Linked DNA regions of Homo sapiens: region 2 is linked to region 1. Evidence: promoter capture Hi-C in 16 types of primary human blood cells and fetal thymus (Javierre and others, 2016). All regions are on one chromosome and are shown on one strand. The core of a region is centred on a gene start or on the middle of the fragment in contact, and the rest is flanking DNA. Distances in the headings are between cores, read along the strand shown. Region 1 holds the start of REG3G (regenerating family member 3 gamma). Region 2 overlaps CTNNA2 (catenin alpha 2).

What was found. Contacts are between HindIII fragments. The CHiCAGO score rates a contact against its expected background, and 5 or more counts as called.
Region 2: a fragment that was not itself captured here is called in contact with the fragment with the promoter of REG3G in region 1 in 1 of 17 cell types (M1 macrophages); the score reaches 5.5 in M1 macrophages.

Annotation. Positions count from the first base shown.
Region 1 is chr2:79,021,566-79,026,968 of GRCh38, reverse strand. It overlaps REG3G (regenerating family member 3 gamma), which reads right to left and starts at 1,267. Exons shown (of 6, transcript NM_001008387.3): 1 at 1,196-1,267; 2 at 800-986; 3 at 138-256. The coding sequence starts at 875. The HindIII fragment of the contact is 2,965 bases long and covers 1-1,816 here.
Region 2 is chr2:79,884,081-79,889,483 of GRCh38, reverse strand. The region is part of intron 6 of CTNNA2 (catenin alpha 2); the gene reads right to left. Among named protein-coding and RNA genes, the nearest start is that of MIR8080, 20 kb to the right of the region's middle. The HindIII fragment of the contact is 2,385 bases long and covers 2,118-4,502 here.

The DNA of each region.
Region 1 (5,403 bases), core at 18-2,517:
AGGTGGGAGGAGGACTGTGTGAAAGATAAGCGTGTTCATCCTCATTCCCAAGGAACTCTCCTGAAGGAGACCCTCCTCCCCCTGAGACCTGCATGGACTTTCCCCTATCACCTCCAACCCCACATCTAACCACTCACATCTGCATCCATCCAGGATTTTGGTGACAAAAACAAGGCATAGCAGGGGGAGCCATAGGCCTTGGAGCCTTTGGGACAGCTGATCCGTGGAGAGGGCAGTTCCTTCTGGGTTTCTTCACCTGGGGTGGAAGAAAAGGGAGAGAGTAAAATGAAGAGTAGGGGGTGGGTGGGAGATGACCTTGGGGAATATCTAGGTCTGCCCTTGGGGAGGAAGACCACATTCCTGACAGCTCTTCATCTTCCCTTGTGTTTTCAGAAGTTCTTTATCTCAAAATAGCCCTACTAAATGGGCCACCATCTAGTCTGTTATTACCCTTTCCCCTTATTCAACCATTCAACACTCTCTTCACTGTGGGCTATCTCTATATTGGGTCCTCCAATCATTGTCCCTCCCCACATCTCATTGCTGACCCTCCACACTTTCCCACCAGTGTATATTAGAGTCCACTGACTAAATGGAAGCCATCTCATTCCATTGTTAGTGGACCACAGTGGAGCCTCCCACTGCAAGTTAACATGAAGGAAGGAGTGATGATGCAGGAACTGCAGGCAGTTTCATTAGACACCACGTCATTACCTCACGTGACACACAGGAGCCTTCCTCCTTTTCTTGGCTCTGAGGATTCATAGGGAACCCAGTGCTAGAGGCAGAGAAATCTCACCTTGAACCTGACACAGGAGAATGAGGCAGGAAAGCAGCATCCAGGACACACTGGGCAGGGCCATGGGAGGCAGCATAGTGTCTGCGACTTGAGGAGGCAATCGGGTCACTAAAGGAAGTGTGGTCAGCGGGAGGACACACAGATATCCTACTGCCTCTTGTCTTTTTCCTTCTGTAGTCCCCTAGGACTGAAGTGATCTTGGTCACATTCATCATCTTCTACAGTTCTGAATGAGCTGTGAATCTGTGTACTCACCCATCCCTGAGACCTCCCAGTACAGCCTTGCTGAGTCTCAGAGCTCCTGTGCTCCCTGAGGAAGGGACCCTCCCATGCGTTCTCCTGTATTATGTGAGGTTGCCCTTCCACAGGTCTCATCTTCTCTCAGCTCCCACTTACCTCTCTGGTGAGATCTGGTATGCTTTGTCTGGTCAGCAAAGACTGGGTTTTTTATAAAAAGATCTCAGGGATGGTCACTGGAGTGAATAACGGCAATATGTAGGCGGGACAGGGGTCATGGAGAGGGCTTGGCATTGGTTCAAAAAGATTATGCCAAGGGGAGGAGACTCTTCCTGGCAAAGGCTGGGAATTGTTACAGATGTTGCCTTTTTCTCTGTAGCAGGCCGGCACTTTCCCCACAAACAGTTGAAGTTTGCACTTTTCCCACCCTCTTCCAGATATCTTCTTCTGAGAAACTTAAGGGAATAAAGGCAGTCTTGTGAGCCTGGTATTATATAGTTTAGAAAATATTATGATATTACATAGTTATGAGAAATGTCAAAAGTTTGTTTTTGATCAACGTGCCAGGAGCTCACTTCTATAGGCATACATATGAATTCCTTTATACCTTATCTAGTAACATTTAAAATAAATTAATAAATAAAAATTGGGTGGGCATTAAAATTAGATGTGTTGGCAAAGACAATGTATTAGTCGAAATAAAGAAACAATAGAAACCAGAAGCAGCAGCACTGGTTCAGTGTTGCTACTTCAACTTCACAGCAAGATGTAAAAGAAGCTTGAAATAATCTTGTGAGTCATTAGGCAAGCCAGGGTCTTATGGAACAGCAGTTAAATAGATTTGCCTTCCAGCTACCTTTGTGTGAGAAGACCAAGAGATAGTTCCTTGGTTTATTGTAGTTCTGCGCTGACAGTTTGATATCTCAGAGTAGCGTTCTTAGATTGTGATCTACACACCAATGGGGGTCTTCAGGGCCTGTTTGGAGTGGTTGTGCAGTTATAATTTTCATAATTATACTAAAGTGTTATTCGTCATTTTCGCTATGTTGACATTTGCACTGATGAGGCAAAATAAATGGTGGATAGAAGTTCTGGTGCCTTAACATCAATCAAGGCAGTGGCACCAAATTGCATTGCTCATATCCACGCACTTGCAAGAAACAAAATAAAGCCATTTTTACTTGAAAATGCCCTTGAACTTGATGAATCAGGGTAGTGAATTGGCTTCAGTAAATCTCAACCCTTGAATACATCTAGAGGGAATATTCTGTATGACTAAATGGGAAGCTGACATGCTAAAGTATAATGGTTGTCTTGAGGGAAATAATTTGTAACACTGAGTTTTAGTTCACTATTTCATGGAACACCATTTTTACTTGAAAAATAAACCAAGACAAACTTCACTTACTGACATATGGGTCTTTTGTTAACATGTTTTCAAAAAAGTTCAAAGTGAGTTAGTAAATGAATATTTTTAACTTTTCTCTTTTACTATATATTATTATAAATATCAATAGCTCACATGAACAAAATTTTTTTTCGAGTGTCCTCAATATTTTTTAAGAGTGTTAAAGGGTCCTGAGATCAAAACAGTTTGAGATCTCTGGTTAACATCTAGCTGGCAATTTCCAGAAAATATAGGACATGGGGATGGTATTATATTACAACACAGGAATACCATCAGCAAAATTTAGAAGGTGGGAAATTCTACAGGACAAATAAGTACATTTCCCCAGCAAGTGAATTTAAGGAAATAAAACAACATCTCACTCTTAACATGTGAAAAATATATCAATCAAATAAAATGTGTGAACCATGTTTGGATCTTGATTTGAACAAATTAAATAAAAAATATAATTATAAAACAATTGGGTAAAAGTGAGCATTTGATAATGTTAAAGGACTATATCATGTTCAGATGTAATTATAATATTGAAATAATATTATTTAAAGTATCCTTATCATTTAAGATACATAACACAATATTTACAGATGAAATGGTTATTCAGAATTTACTTCAAAATAATCAAGCATGATAGAGATAAAGAAAGAGAGAGACAGATAAAACAAGAGAGGACTTGAGGTCATGAGAGTTGTTGCTTGGTGGTAGGTACATAATGATTCATAACACTATTGTCTTTGGGTTTTTATCTAAAATATTGGTGGAAAATTTTGAGAAAAAGAAAAATTCAGGGCCATCGTGAGAAAGAAATTTGAAGGACAATCTGACTCAAGAACACAGATGCAAAGTTCCTGAACAAAACACAAAACAAATTGAATTCATTGTTTTATATAATAAATGAAGAGAAAGAAGAGTTAATCTTGGAAATGTAATGATAGTTTATTATGATGAACTATTAATGCAATTTCCAAGTTCAGAAGTTAAAAGGGAAAAAAATATATAGTCATTTTAAAAGAACAAAATTGTTAAGTGAAATTCAAAACCTATTAGTAACTGATAAAAAGTCTTAAAAACCAGAGTTAGACAGGAATAGCTTTAACACAGTAAAGAAATCTATAGAGACTCAAAAGTAAACTACTGACAAGACTTCCTTAAAAAATCAGAAATATACAAATGTACCACCCTCATTGATTCTATTTAACAATATCGTGTGATAGAAAGTACACTTAGAAAAGAAAAAAAAATTTAAACAGGGAAAAAGTAAATTAAGTTGTCACTATTTGCATATGACATGCTGTCTCCATAGAAAACCCAGAAGACTCTTCAAATTAGTTGTTAGAATTAATGGATAAATTTAGTAAACAAGAAGAATGTGAGATCAACATATAAATCCCAAATGAACATTTGTATTCCAACAATAGAGTTAGAAAGGGTATTTTTAAGAAAGATACTGTTTTTAATAGGAAGAAAAATATAAAGGATCTAGAAATATATCCGACAAAAATAGTCAAGACCATGTAAAACTTTTTAAACTTTAAAGAAGACTTTAATATACGAAGAAATATATCATGTTTTAGAGAGACAGATTCAATATCCTGAAGAGGTTACTTTTCCCTACACAGATGGTCTGTGATTTATGATAGTTCTACTTATAATTTTTCTACCGTATCATGGTGGGAAAGTGATATGCATTCCCTAGAAGGCTTATATCAGATTTTGAATACTGGTCTTTTACTGGGCTAGCAGTATGCAGTACGGTACTCTCTCATGTTGCCTCAGCATAGGCAGCAAGCACTGCCCTGGTGGCAATACCATCTTGAAAGTAAACAGCTGATACTCCACAGTGTACTGTGTTTTCAGATGATTTTGCCCAACCATGAATGCCGGAGGTGTGCCTGGAGGCTATCTTAATAGCTGGCCATCAGAATTGGAAACTGGTACTTTAATCGTCAAGGGCTTGGCCCTTTCTCTCTTCCTCTTGGTAGATCGTTTTGAATCTCCATAATACCAATTGTACACAGGAGAATGAACTTCACTCAATTTTGTCCAGCAGTCCTCAAATTCCAGATAAACTTGAATGTATGGTGGGAGCAGAAGACATGGGTGTTTATCTTCTATTACCTGACTCTATGTCCCTACCTATTCAAAATGATCAGTTATGAATATGAATTTATCATTACTCTCCCCTTCAAACTTTACTGATGATTTCTCCATTATCTACTCTTCTGATTTCCTATTGGTACACAGAAAACTATCCCAAGGTTAGTGGCATAAAACAGTTTGTTATTACTTCTCATGGTTCTGTGAGGTGATTAGGATTGTCTGGGTGGTTCTCCCTTGGAAATCATGCAGTTGCATATAATGGCTGGAACTGGAGTCATATGAAGCATCAAATGGACTGGTCTTCGAAGATGATTACACACATGCTTAGCAGTTGATCTGAGAGATCTCTGCTAAAGAGGGGACTGCTAAAGAGAACTACAATGCAGTGGCCCTGTGCCTTGAACTTCTTACATCTTACAGCATGGAGGTGTCAGGATAGTAGAATTTCTTTTATTGTTGGTCAGGGCTCCAAGAGGGCAAAGCAGAAGCTGCTGGTCCTTTTGGGCTGGGTCATGAAATAACATAATGCTATTTCCATCATACTCTGTTGATCAAGCATGAGTTTGTATTCTCAGGACCTAGCACATTAAACTCTCAACAATACTTATTTAATAAATTAATATTTTTATTCACAATGATTTTAGCAATTATGTCAGCTGCTTTTAACCTCAAAATGTTACAGGCTGATAAGACTTCACTTTTAATTTTATTTCTTTCATTAAATCTGTTATTTTGAGTAGGTGACTTTATTCCCCCTGGACCTGTGTTTCTTAATTTTCCAGTGATGATGTTGGACAAAGACAGCATTGAGATATATTCTATAATTTTCCTATTATTGATCGGAATGCTGGAATATTATGAA
Region 2 (5,403 bases), core at 2,061-4,560, 860 kb before region 1:
TGTAACCAGGTCAAACCACAACCGACTATTTATGTTCTCAGTTATGTTGGGTGCCTGCTAATCATACGTGCATATGAGTAATTGTTTTTCTACAGCCTTAGCTCAATGAATTTATACAATCAGAAAAAAAGACAGTATCAGAGAACATTTGGGGAAATAAAGAATGGGACTCAATAGGTTATAGTGAAGTTTCCATAATATTCTGCTGGAAAAGAAGTTCAGGAAATACGTTGAGCAGTATGGTTGAAAAATCCAAATGGATGCTTCACGTGCAGTTGTTGCACGTGTGTGTGTGTGTTTGTGTGTGGTTTACTTCACCACTGAATCAAACTAAATCTTAGAACATTTAAGTAACTCCCTATCACGTTCCCAGCACTGTAACATAGGAAGCACACGAGAAGTCATAATCCTGGAGGGAGAAGTAAAGATTAGCAGTACTAACATAAGAAATCACACAGAAAGACTAAAGTATTAAATGTATTTAAAGATTAAAAAATCAAACATTTTAAATAAACCACATGTTGCTCTAATAAAGAGTTCACTAGATAAGTGGCCTTATTTGGGTCCGAAATTTGAAAAAGTATAACTAATAGATAAGTGACAATCAAAATTATACTTGCCATCACATGTTAGACAATTTTGAATATCATAATCAATTACATCAGTATTCATTATTATATTTGGTACTAACTTGAAATAAAGGTGAAATCAGACCTAAAGAATCTGTCAATATTCTCAAAAGCAAAAATCAGTCACACTAGGAAGAAAACAGATTCTTACATTTTTCGCTGCCTCAAGAAATAACCCAAGATTGGAAATATAATAATTTTGATTAAACCTGATAGGGGGCCAAAAAATCAAGATATAAATTGCAATTATAAAAAAAAGTACTTCAAATTTCATTCTTTTATTTGCTCAACAATTTTTAGAGATCTTTAGTGATTGAAATGCGCAAGAGAAAAGTAAATTGTTTTGGAATATTTCTTAAAGCAAGTAAAAAAATTGAAAGGTAAATGATTCTATCAGAAAATACTCCTAGATTTATAAAACCTTAGGAAAGAAAAGCTGTTTAGAAGCAATATCAGAGGTATCGATAACCTATACAAGAGGTGTCAATAACCCGGAAAGAGATTTCTGGGCAGAAAAGATGGATTCTGGAAAGTGAAGCGGTATAGCTCAGGAAGCAGTGAAGACTATGTTGTCTACGATGATGCCTAACCTGGTCCCCAAGCACCCAGCAGAACCAGCCTTGACTCACCACCCTACCTTGCACTCCTCTTCCTATAAGCTCACATGTATTGCATCTATCTTTATCACCATCCCAGAGGTAGGGATGGTTTTAAGAATTAGCTGGACTTGCATTGCATAACATTAGTGTTCAGAAGGTTGTCATAGGTAGACTAAACACTTTTTGACGGATGACTACACACTGTCCATATTTGCATCCCTTGGGTTTGAGCCCGTATTACATATATAAATTGTAGTATGTTTACAGGGATCTAAGAACCCACAGGAGTGTTTCTTAATGCTTTGTTTGGCCACCAGATGTCAGTGTAGGATAAAGAATGCTGGAACGCTCCTGCTTGTTTCCAGTTAGAAAGAATTGAAAAGGCAGTTTTGATGAGTTTAATTTGCCATTGAAAAAGAAGAAATAAATTTGGAAGGTACTCCACTGGGAGAAGATACGATGAACAGGTGAGGATTTCTGGTTCCCACTAAGCATCAGTTACTGATACTATGCCCTAAAGATGGAAAAGTTTGTCTCCACTTTTCAAAAAAGTATCAAAAAGTTGTTTTTTTCTTTTTTAAGAAGTAAAAAGAGCATGCTAAGCACATAGTAGGAGCCCAATTAAGCACAAACAGATTAACCTAAGTTAGAAAAATCCTAGACTTTGTAGAATTTTGTTTAAGAATATTCAAAATATATAATATCTGCATAAATGACTAGGGATTTAACAATCATACTGATGGGAACGGAAATGAACTAAGAGCCAAAAAAATCAGTGCAAGAAAGTTATATTATGTAAAAACATCAAATTTTCCAAAAAATGACTGAAATTTCTCAAGATTTCATAATTAGACCTAGAAAATGTTTGGTTTTTTAATTAGCTAAAGCTTACATGACAATACAAAACACTATTTCAATATATGGAAATAAAAAGTACAATTCTCATGACCTGTTGATTCTACTTCCTCAGTATGGTTCAGATTCACCCACTTCTTCCTAATTCTACTCTATTGATATACTGCAGACATTCCTAATTTCTCACGCTTATCTGTCTCCCTACTCTGCAGCTTTGCTTCTTCAAACTCATTCTCCCCCCGGCAGCCACTGCAGCCACAGGGATCTTCAAAAACACAAGTCTGGGCCAGGAGCTGTGGCTCACGCCTGTAATCCCAGCATTTTGGGAAGCTGAGTTGGGCAGATCACTTGAGTTCAGGAGTTCAAGACCAGCCTGGACAACATGGCGAAACCATGTGTCTACTAAAAATACCAAAACTTGCTGGGTGTGGTGGTGTGCCTGTGGTCCTAGCTACTCGGGAGGCTGAGGTGGGAAGATTACTTGAGGCAGAGGTTGCAGTGAGTTGAGATCATGCCACTGCACTCCAGCCTGGGTGACAGAGGGAGACCCTGTCTCAAAAACAAAAACAAACAAAACAACGACAACAACAAAAACCCCACAAGTCTGACCATGCCATTTCCTTCTTTTTTTTTTTTTTTTTTTTTTTTTTGAGATGGAGTCTTGCTCTGTCACCCAGGCTGGAGTGCAGTGGCGTGATCTCAGCTCACTGCAAGCTCTGCCTCCCGGGTTCATGCCATTCTCCTACCTCAGCCTCCCGAGTAGCTGGGACTACAGGTGCCCGCCACCACGCCTAACTAATTTTTTGTATTTTTAGTAGAGACGGGTTTTCACCATGTTAGCCAGGATGGTCTTGATCTCCTGACCTCGTGATCCGCCCGCCTCGGCCTCCCAAAGTGCTGGGATTACAGGCGTGAGCCACCGCGCCTGGCTGCCATTTCCTTCTTTAGATCACCAGTAACTTCCTAAGGCCTTCAGCATGAAGCCCAGCCACTTGCAAGGCTGAATAGCTCTTCAGGATTGGTCTCCTATTTGCCCACTTAGACTGACTTTTCCCCATCCTCTGTACCCCAGAAATAATCACTTTATGCAGGCTTTACCCACCATACAACTGCATGCAATGATGATCTTTCTACCTGAGAAATACTCTCATTCACATTTCATCATGTTTATTCTTTCTTAGCCTTTAGATGCAGCTCATTTACCTCCTCTTCCAAGAATTATTCCACAATTTCATCTTGCCCAATTCCACCCCCTTACGCACACATAATAGGTTAAGTGGATACTATATACGTAAGCGTATGCAGCAGCATTTATGCATTGCAGCGTCTATAGCTGTTTACTAAGTATTTTCTCCTTTTACATATGACACTCCCTTATTGTTCTATCTCATCTGGCACATATACACTTTGAATGAATGATCTTAGCTATCTGGTGGCTAAACCTTATCCTAAGAGATATAAAATCCAAGGCCTAGAGATGGGCTTAGTAGCCCATGCTTACACATACTTAGTTATTTGTAGAGCTTGGAGTAGTAGCCAATACCTGAATCCAAGTCCTGGACTCTTTCCAGTGTTCTTGGTTACTTCTATTGGCCATTCAGTGGGAATCACTTCTCAGACACATAGCAGAGATAATTATTATGGAGCATTAATAGAAGGGCCCTGTCATCTCAACTCTTCACCTTCATTCTAATGTAATGTAAGATATAGGAAACTTACAATCTTCATAGCCTAACATGGAGGGTTGCTAGATGTCTGTAGTCAAATGACTTTATAAAATATCGAAGTAGATAAGGCCTGGGGCAAGTTTCCCTGATAAATAAGTATATTGGTTGCTACAGCAAAAGGAAATACTAGAATTGAGAAGGGACAGAACAAGATCCTTGGTGAAAATTTTATTTTCCCAGGAGACACTTATCCTTCCCTGATGTTGAAGAAATCATAAGTCAATAAAGCATATTAAGAATCCATGAGCCAGTCAGAACTCTGGGCCATGGCCCCTTAAGGGACCAGAGCTTACACAGCAGTATCTGTCTGATTCTAGGAACAATAAGAATTGATTATCACAATACTCAAAAAACATAAAAAAGTGGCATTTGAAATGGAGGCACAACAGAAAAACCCTCACTTATTCGGAAGCCTTCAGTGTAGATCTCCTAGGTCTTATATTTGGGCCTCTGACTTACCTATACAGCGTTTCGTTCTCCACTGAAAATGCACTCCAACCCTGGATCTCCAAATACTAATCTTGGGTTGTGAATCCCCTCAAAGGTCCTGCAACCTCTTAATGTCCCTTAAATGGGCTGGGAACCTGAAATGACTGCTGCCATGTGAACTACTACGGCTGAACTTCATTCTTTGGCCTGGAGCTCCTTGAATATCTGTGTGCACCCAGAGAAGCCTACAACTGGGATAAGCTTTGGGCAGTGACCACAGAAGCATGGCCCGTGCTCCCCCAGTAGACAATTATTTTATCCTCACAGTTAGCCTACATACAATTCTTGCCAGCCAGGGATTATTTTTCCGTGCACCAGTCTGAGATGCAGATGTCGCATCACTGCTCATGTTAACATTCCAATATTTCCATCCACTGAATACCAGATCGGAAAGAGAATTACAATTTGACCAAGAACAGAAAAAAAAAAAAAAGCATATTTAAAGAGATGATGAAAAAGGGAAGAAAATGTAAGAAGGTAAAGGCAGGTAGGGAAAATTAGGTAAAAATAGGACGGGGAACTTATGTAGAGTTGCTATACCAGGGTAACATTTCAGCTTAATGTGGTTGAGAATAGAATGTCTTATTCCTCAAGTGCAGATATTTAAATCTTACAAGAGATATTAGTGGTAATAGAAAGAAAGAGGAGGCATGGTCAGTATAATAATGTGCTCCCTTCCAAAGCTGAAGTATTCGAAAAGTAGAAAATAAAAGCCTATCAATTTTGTGAGTGAGTGACAGTCTCTGGAGACACTCAGGTAGAGTGCCTGAGGAGCAGGGAGGAACCGAGGTTAGCATAGAGGATTGTGGATTGTCAGGAAAAGAAAAGATAACGAAAATATGGCAATATGGTAATTTTAGCAGCCCAATGCTTTATTTTCTTTTTAGGTTGTTAGAATTGGAATACATTTTCTGTAGGTTGAGGAGATGGAACAAGTGGAGGAGAAACTGAAGGAGCAAGAACAAGAGAATTACTAGTCAAACAAATTCCCAGGGCAAGTTGGGAGAAAGAAAGCAAATCACAAATAGAAAGCTAAATGTTAGAAGAAGTCAAGATAATGTGTACTGTCTGACTTAAAAGAAAACAACATTTTTAAAAGGTGAA